Linked DNA regions of Homo sapiens: all the other regions are linked to region 2. Evidence: promoter capture Hi-C in human tissues and cell types (Jung and others, 2019). All regions are on one chromosome and are shown on one strand. Each heading gives the region's core, a stretch centred on a gene start or on the middle of the fragment in contact. The rest is flanking DNA. Distances are from core to core; before and after follow the strand shown.

Region 1 (2,700 bases), core at 174-2,673, 220 kb before region 2:
AATGGGGCTGCACCTGTCCCAAAGGTGGGCTGCGATCCAAAGGCCTCCTGGGCTCCTCGCCTGGCTTCCGGGCCTCAGGGGCAGGAGGGAGGGCGTGGTGCAACAGCCACCCTGGGAATGGGATGGGGACAGAGTTTGTTCTCTGTGCATCACTTCTGGATTCCTCTTGTGTTGAATGCAAACACTCAGAAAGAACAGCATGTTCCTTTTCAAAACCAAAGTAACTTCCATTACATCGAGAACTTGGGGAGGGCCGGACAACAGTGAACTGTGACACACAGCATTTCGGTAGAGCTCTTGCACACACAATGCCACGCCCCTGCCACACACAGCCCTTGCTGTCCTCACAGCGGGGGCAGCAAGCACATTCGCTAACAGAAGCACCCAGACGCCCTTTCTGTGGCAGGCACAAAGAAGAAGCAAAAACTTGCCAGGTGCGGAGGCTCACGTCTGTAATCCCAGCACTTTGGGAGGCTGAGGCAGGTTGCTCACTTGAGGCCAGGAGTTCGAGATCAGCCTGGCCAACATGGTGAAACTCCGTCTCTACTAAAAATACAAAAATTAGCTGGGCGTGGTGGTGGGCACCTGTAATCCCAGCTACTCGGGAGGCTGAGGCAGAAGAATTGCTTGAACCCGGGAGGCAGAGGTTGCAGCGAGCCGAGATCATGCCACTGCACTCCATCCTGGGTAACTCCATCTCAAAAAGCAAGCAAACAAACAAACAAAAGAAGCAAAAGCTTAAGTATAACAACTTAAAAATGATGGTTCTACTCAAAGCTTCGGCATGCTAGCTTACTTAGAAATGACCCCACATCAAACGAGATCCTTTCATCAATTCCATTCATGTTATGTTATGTAAAGATCTGCTCCTTCTCTAAGCAGACACATCAGAAGACATAATTACTGAAATAACATTTCCCAGGATTACAAATCAGTTTCGTTAAACTCACTGAGGATTCCAACAAGGTTTTTGGAGGGTGTTTATAACTGTTGACATTTCACATATTGGAAATTGAAACAGACATTTTTTTTTTTGAGATGGAGTTTCGCTCTTGTCCCCCAGGCTGGAGTGCAGTGGCGCGATCTCGACACCCCCAGAACATCCACCTCCTGGGTTCAAGCAATTCTCCTGCCTCAGCCTCCCAAGTAGCTGGGATTACAGGCATGCGCCACCACGCCCGGCTAATTTTGTATTTTTAGTAGAGACGGGGTTTCTCCATGTTGGTCAGGCTGGTCTCGAATTCCCGACCTCAGGTGATCTGCCCGCCTTGGCCTCCCAAAGTGCTGGGAATACAGGTGTGAGCCATGTGCCTGGTCAAAACAGAAAAATTTTAAAGCTTTTTTATCAATTAACTTGAAGTTAGCCATGATGAACATATTGCTTATGATCAACATCTGAGGAGCATCGCAGGATTAGCTCTGCCCTGTGGACATCCCGAGATGGGCCCTCAAGTAAAGCATCAGTTTCTTCTACGCAATAAAAGAACCCAAAGATGACACTTGGAAATGAACGTGTTTCCCTTGGTTTATAAACACCTGAATTTAAAAGCCATGAAGTCAGAAGATGCACGTGTGGGCAAAAACCTCCTGAAGACACTCAACACCATTGGTCACCAGGAGAATGTAAAATCAAGCCCACTATGGGATCCCGCCTCACACCCACTAGGTTGGCTGGGATCAACAGGATAGAAAACAGCTGGGTGCGGTGGCTCACACCTGTAACCCCAGCACACTGGGAGGCCGGGTGGGGGGGATCCTTGATGTCAGGTGTTGGATACTGGCGTGGGCAACACAGTGAGATCCCACCTCTATTTTTAAAAGAAATTTTTTTAAATATAAAAAAAATAAAGTTTTTAAAGATATGCAATAAAAGTATTCTTAATTAAAAAAAACCCCGACAGAAAATAGCAAGTGCTGGTGCAGATGTGGAGAAATCAGAACCTTCGTGCGCAGCTGGTGGGCATGGGAGGCGGTTTGGTGGCTCCTTACCAGGTTAGACACAGAATTCCCACATGACCCAGCAAGGCCACTTCTAGGGAGGCATCCAAGAGAACTGAATGTTCACAGCAATATTATTCACAATAGCCCAAAGGCGGAAACCATCCAAATGTCCATCAAACTGATGGACAAATGCCTACAGTGGCCTGTCCCCCAGCAAAGAGCTCTTCCCATGGAAAGGAATTAAGTGCAGACGCCCCAGCACGAGGGACCCTCAAACAGGACACAGAGGGAAAGAAGCCAGGCACAAAGGGACACATCCTGTGGGATCCTGCTGAAGTGAAACGTCCAGAACAGGCAAAGGCATGGAGGCAGAATGTGGGTGCTGGGCGGGGGACAGGAAGCAACTGCGAATGAGTGTGGGGTTTCCTCTGAAGTGAAAGGAATTCTGGAACAAATGATGATGCTCGCACAACATTCTTGACGTGCTTAATGCACTGAACTGTATACTTTGTATACTTCATGAGCTTTCAACAGTACATTTTATATGTATAGTACCAAAAAAAAAAAAAAAAAAAGAAAACTAGTTTTTTTGAGACAGAGTCTTGCTCTGTCACCCAGGCTGGAGTGCAGTGGTGCAATCGCGGCTCACTGCAGCCTCCACCTCCTGGGCTCAAGCGATCCTCCCACCTCAGCCTCCCAAGTAGCTGGGACCACACCCAGCCAAGTTTTTTGTTTTTTAGTAGAGACAGGGTGTCACTA
Region 2 (2,700 bases), core at 180-2,679:
CAGCAATCTCACTCCTTAGAGTTTACCAAAATGAGTTGAGAACTTATGTCTACAGACACCTGCACATGAATATTTGTAGTAGCTTTATTCATAATTGCCCAAACCTGGGAGCAACCAAGATGTCTTTCCATAGGTGAATGGATAAATAAACCATGGTACATCCAGACAATGGAATACCATTCAGTGTTAAAAAATAAGTGAGCTGGCCATGCAAGGTGGCTCACGTCTGTAATCCCAGCACTGTGGGAGGCAGAGGCAGGCGGATCACTTGAGCCCAAGTGTTTGATACCAGTGTGGGCAACATGGTGAGGCCCTGTCTCACAAAAAATACAAAACTTATCGGGGTGTGCACCAGCACCTGTAGTCCCAGCTATTTGGGAGGCTGAGGTGAGAAAATCACAGGAGCCCAGGAGGTTGAGGCTGTAGTAGCTGTGATTTCACCAGTGCATTCCAGCCTGGGTGACAGAGCAAGACTCTGTCTCAAAAAAAAAAAAAAAAAAAAAAAGAAGTGAACTATCAAACCACAAAAGACATGGAAGAACCAAAGTGCGTATTACTAAAAAAGAAGTTGAAAAGGCTACATAATGTATGAGTCCAGCTCTGTGACATTTTGGAAAAGGCAAAATTAAGGAGACAGTCAAAAGATTCCTGGTTGCCAGGGGCTGGGAGAGGGAGTGATGAAAATGCAGAACACAGATGAATCGGGGCGGAGAAACCCGTCTGTACAATATTAGAGTGGTGGGTCTGCATGATTATACATGTGTCCAAACCTGCAGAATGCACAGCACCGGAGGAAAGCATAATGGAAACTGCAGAGGGCGATGATGATAATAACAACGTGTAACAAATGGCTGGGACGGGAGGACTGGGGAAGGCTGTGCACCTGCAGGAGCAGGGGAGCGGTGGGAGAGCTCCATGCTTTTGGCTCAATTTTGCTATGAACCTAAAACTGCTGTAAAAAATAGAGTCTACTGAAAAAACAAGTGTTAATTTATAAGCGTCTTGTTTAAAGAGCGAAGAGATGAACCACAAAGGGGAAAATGTGTTTAAACAATAACTAATTGACAATTGGCTGGTTCTTAAAATTCAGAGAACTTTAAGACAGAGACAGCAAAGCAGGGATCACGTTTTACAAACGCGGCAGGACCAGGACGTCGTGCCCACGACGGGCCAGCAACCACAGGCTGGATGCTCACCCTGTGCCAGCCTGCAGACGGAGAGCACCCACCCCAATCTCCAGCCCCCAGAGGAGCTGCCTCTCCAGGGCCTTCCTGCAGGTGCCCAGGGGCTGCACATGGCCCTCCTTGGAGGGAGCTGGTGACTCAGCACTTTCATTTCCTGGAAACTGAGGCTCATGGGAGATATGCAGATGAGCCCAGAGCACCATGGGAAATGGCCCTTTATATACCCAAATGGGCTCTGCCTCCTCCTTTCCCTGGGTGCCCACATGAACAGAGACACCAGGATGGTGAGATCTCCCGAGGAGGGGTCTCTGAGGAGGGGTCTCGGAGACACGGCCTGGTGCTGGGTGAGGGGTTGGGAGGCTGAAGCGGGGCCAGGATTCCTCAGGTTCCCTCAGTTTCCCTCAAATTTCCCTCAGTTTCCCTCAGGTTCCCTAAGGTTCTCCAAGTTCCCTCAAATTTCCCTCAGTTTCCCTCAGGTTCCCTCAGTTTCCCTCAAGTTTCCCTCAGTTTCCCTCAGGTTCCCTCAGTTTCCCTCAGGTTCCCTCAGTTTCCCTCAAGTTTCCCTCAGTTTCCCTCAGGTTCCCTCAGTTTCCCTCAAGTTTCCCTCAGGTTCCCCCAGTTTCCCTCAAGTTTCCCTCAGCTTCCCTCAGGTTCCCCCAGTTTCCCTCAGGTTCCCTCAGTTTCCCTCAAGTTTCCCTCAGTTTCCCCCAGTTTCCCTCAAATTTCCCTCAGTTTCCCTCAGGTTCCCTCAGTTTCCCCCAGCTTCCCTCAGGTTCCCTCAGTTTCCCTCAAGTTCCCCTCAGTTTCCCCCAGTTTCCCTCAGGTTCCCCCAGTTTCCCTCAAGTTCCCCTCAGGTTCCCCCAGTTTCCCTCAAGTTTCCCTCGGGTTCCCCCAGTTTCCCTCAGGTTCCCCCAGTTTCCCTCAGTTTCCCTCAAGTTTCCCTCAGGTTCCCCCAGTTTCCCTCAGGTTCCCTCAGTTTCCCTCAAGTTTCCCTCAGGTTCCCCCAGTTTCCCTCAGGTTCCCTCAGGTTCCCCCAGTTTCCCCCAGGTTCCCCCAGTTTCCCCCAGTTTCCCTCAAGTTTCCCTCAGGTTCCCCCAGTTTCCCTCAGGTTCCCTCAGTTTCCCTCAAGTTTCCCTCAGGTTCCCCCAGTTTCCCTCAGGTTCCCTCAGTTTCCCTCAGGTTCCCCCAGTTTCCCCCAGGTTCCCCCAGTTTCCCCCAGTTTCCCTCAAGTTTCCCTCAGGTTCCCCCAGTTTCCCTCAGGTTCCCTCAGGTTCCCCCAGTTTCCCCCAGTTTCCCTCAGGTTCCCCCAGTTTCCCTCAGGTTCCCTCAGTTTCCCTCAGGTTCCCCCAGTTTCCCTCAGTTTCCCCCAGTTTCCCTCAAGTTTCCCTCAGGTTCCCCCAGTTTCCCTCAGGTTCCCTCAGTTTCCCTCAGGTTCCCCCAGTTTCCCTCAGGTTCCCTCAAGTTTCCCTCAGGTTCCCCCAGTTTCCCTCAGGTTCCCTCAGGTTCCCTCAGTTTC
Region 3 (2,700 bases), core at 197-2,696, 230 kb after region 2:
ACACCACAGGCCCTTCTGCTTCCTGTTTCCAAAGCTCATCTCCTGTCTCTGGGCTGCAGGCGCTGTTTCTGGTTTACTGGCACAACTGTGGTTGTGTTTTTGTCAATGACTTCATCTTTGCTGCTGTTGTTTTGAGATACTGTCTTGCTCTGTCACCCAGGCTGGAGTGCAGTGCCGAGATCTCAACTCACTGCAGCCCCGACCTACTGGTCTCAAGCCATCCTCCTGCCTCAGCCTCCCAAGTAGCTGGGACTACAGGTGTGCAGCACCACATCCAGCTAAGTTTTTGTATTTTTTGTAGAGACAGGGTCTCACTATGTTGCCCAGGCTGGTTTCAAACTCCTGGACTCTGGTGATCCTCTAGCCTTGGCCTCCCAAAGTGCTGGGATTACAGGTACGAGCCAGCATACCCAGCCAGTGTTGTCGTTTTGATTTGGGAGTTCGGGGCTGAGCTGTGTTTGGCCAGGGCCTCGCCTGCTCAGTGTGCTCCTGGGCTGAGCTGCGGTCCTGGAGCATCTCTTGGCTCACATATTGACTCCTCCGGCCTCTCTACTGTCCTGGTCCTTCATGGGGCTCACATGTGTGTCCTCTTGTTTTCTTTCTGTCACCTTCTTAAGGGTTCACAGATCACTGTCAGTGGAAGGTGTTGCCACAGCTCAAGCCTCACAGTGGAGGAACCTCATGAGGCCCTTCACGGGGCCACTCCCTGTCTGGACAGGCCTGCCTGACCAGCCCTGCTGGGAAGCCTGGGCTTTGCTGCTGCTTCACCCTGCGACATTCTCCTCAGGCCCTGCCTTTCGCTTCTTTCGTTAACATTGTTCCTGCCTTGATCGTTTGCTCCCTCCTGCCTAACTCTGCTCTTCTTCCTTGTGTAGCAGTTACGTGGTCCTCAAATATCATTTGTTGACTCCAGTGTTTCCTGGGGCATCTCCTCAAGCTGGCTGGGGTTCTCTGCATCTCAGCTGTGGCGCCTGGTGTGAGGGCGCACGCTTCGCAGTGAGAGTGAAATGCCCAGTTCGCGCTGGCAGAGGGAGACCCTGTGAAGGTCTCCCTGTGCCAGGCACAGGCTCTTATTCTGAAAGCAGACCCCGTGAAGGTCTCCCTGTGCCGGGCACAGGCTCTTATTCTGAAAGTAGACCCTGTGAAGGTCTCCCTGCGCCGGGCACAGGCTCTTATTCTGAAAGCAGACCCAGTGAAGGTCTCCCTGTACCGGGCAGAGGCTCTTATTCTGAAAGCAGACCCCGTGAAGGTCTTCCTGTACCGGGCACAGGCTCTTATTCTGAAAGACCCAGTGAAGGTCTCCCTGCGCCGGGCACAGGCTCTTATTCTGAAAGCAGACCCCGTGAAGGTCTCCCTGCACCGGGCACAGGCTCTTATTCTGAAAGCAGACCCAGTGAAGGTCTCCCTGTGCCAGGCAGAGGCTCTTATTCTGAAAGCAGACCCAGTGAAGGTCTCCCTGTGCCAGGCAGAGGCTCTTATTCTGAAAGCAGACCCTGTGAAGGTCTCCCTGTACCGGGCACAGGCTCTTATTCTGAAAGGGTACGCAGCAGTTTCTGGAAGGAAGGAAGGAGGGAGGGAGGGAGGGAGGGAAAGAGGAAGGAAGGAAAGGAGAGCGATAGGCACAGAGGAAGGTAGATGAAGCCCCGCGCCCCCCTGGCGGAGCCCAGCCCTGTTCACCGCGTGCTGTGCGGGTGCCTGTGCCAGGATCAGCTGGCTGGACGGCTATAGCCCCACGCCTGCAGGCCACATACCTGGGAGAGTGTGGGCCTTCCGAGCCTTCTGGCTCCCGGCCCCACAGAGGAATTACGGTCCCATGTCCCTCACAAGGACCCTTGCAGAGGGAGCAGTGCATCGGCACAGAGCAGGACACAGGGGAGCCGGGCTGAGGCTGCGGGTCCCTTGTGGCCGCCAGGTGCTCACGCGTGCCTCGGTGGGGATCTGGCAGCCAGATTTGGGGTGAGGATTTGATGATGTGGGTATCCCTAGCTGGTCCCACAGTGACGATGGGTGTTGCGTTGTGAGCATGTAAAACGGCAGTGACGTCTGAGGGTCCCTGGACGTCTTTCACACCCAGCCTCAAAGCGGAGCCTTTCCAGGCAGAGCAGCAGCTGCCGCCACTGGATTGACAGCCCCAGAGCAGCGGGATCAGGCCACGCGGACGAGGAGGTGCGAGGCCTCGGGTCGGGGCCTGTGTTCTGCGGGAGCCGCACCCATCATCGCTGTGGCGGTGGCAGTGGAGCAGCTGCTCTCGTGTCTGAGCTGCTCCGGCGTCTCTGTCCACAGTATAGGGTCTTCTGATGCTTCCTGGAGGTCTCGGAGGGGCTTGCTGCGTGTAGTACCCACACAGCCCACAACTGGGGTGTTGTCAAGTGTTATGACGTAGGTTGCCTGTGGAGTAAAAGTTGGCCGCTAAGAAATGCTCTAGACAGGCCGGGCACGGCGGCTCACACCTGTCATCCCAGCACTTTGGGAGGCCGAGGCGGGCGGATCACGAGGTCAGGAGATTGAGACCATCCTGGCTAACACGGTGAAACCCTGTCTCCACCAAAAATACAAAAAATTAGCTGGACATGGTGGCGGGCGCCTGTAGTCCCAGCTATTCGGGAGGCTGAGGCAGGAGAATGGCATGAACCCGGGAGGTGGAGCTTGCAGTGAGCTGAGATCGCGCCACTGCACTCCCGCCTGGGCGACAGAGCGAGA

The links. The method cuts DNA at HindIII sites, captures the fragments that hold promoters and counts their contacts. A contact is called where the count stands out against the background at its distance.
Region 1: a fragment that was not itself captured here is called in contact with the fragment with the promoter of TEX19 in region 2 in 7 of the 25 tissues and cell types used here (dorsolateral prefrontal cortex, heart right ventricle, lymphoblastoid cells and 4 more).
Region 3: a contact is called between a fragment that was not itself captured here and the fragment with the promoter of TEX19 in region 2, in 2 of the 25 tissues and cell types used here (bladder and spleen).

What each region holds. Positions count from the first base shown.
Region 1 is chr17:82,134,084-82,136,783 of GRCh38, forward strand. It overlaps CCDC57 (coiled-coil domain containing 57), which reads right to left. Exons shown (of 19, transcript NM_001394669.1): 16 at 1-111. Among named protein-coding and RNA genes, the nearest start is that of FASN, 37 kb to the left of the region's middle. The HindIII fragment of the contact is 3,997 bases long and covers 1-2,700 here.
Region 2 is chr17:82,357,818-82,360,517 of GRCh38, forward strand. TEX19 (testis expressed 19) reads left to right here and starts at 1,430. Exons shown (of 2, transcript NM_207459.4): 1 at 1,430-1,468. RefSeq lists a silencer at 2,616-2,700. The HindIII fragment of the contact is 14,968 bases long and covers 1-2,700 here.
Region 3 is chr17:82,591,789-82,594,488 of GRCh38, forward strand. The region is part of intron 8 of FOXK2 (forkhead box K2); the gene reads left to right. Among named protein-coding and RNA genes, the nearest start is that of FOXK2-AS1, 4.7 kb to the left of the region's middle. RefSeq lists silencers at 5-299, 1,412-1,612. The HindIII fragment of the contact is 5,736 bases long and covers 1-2,700 here.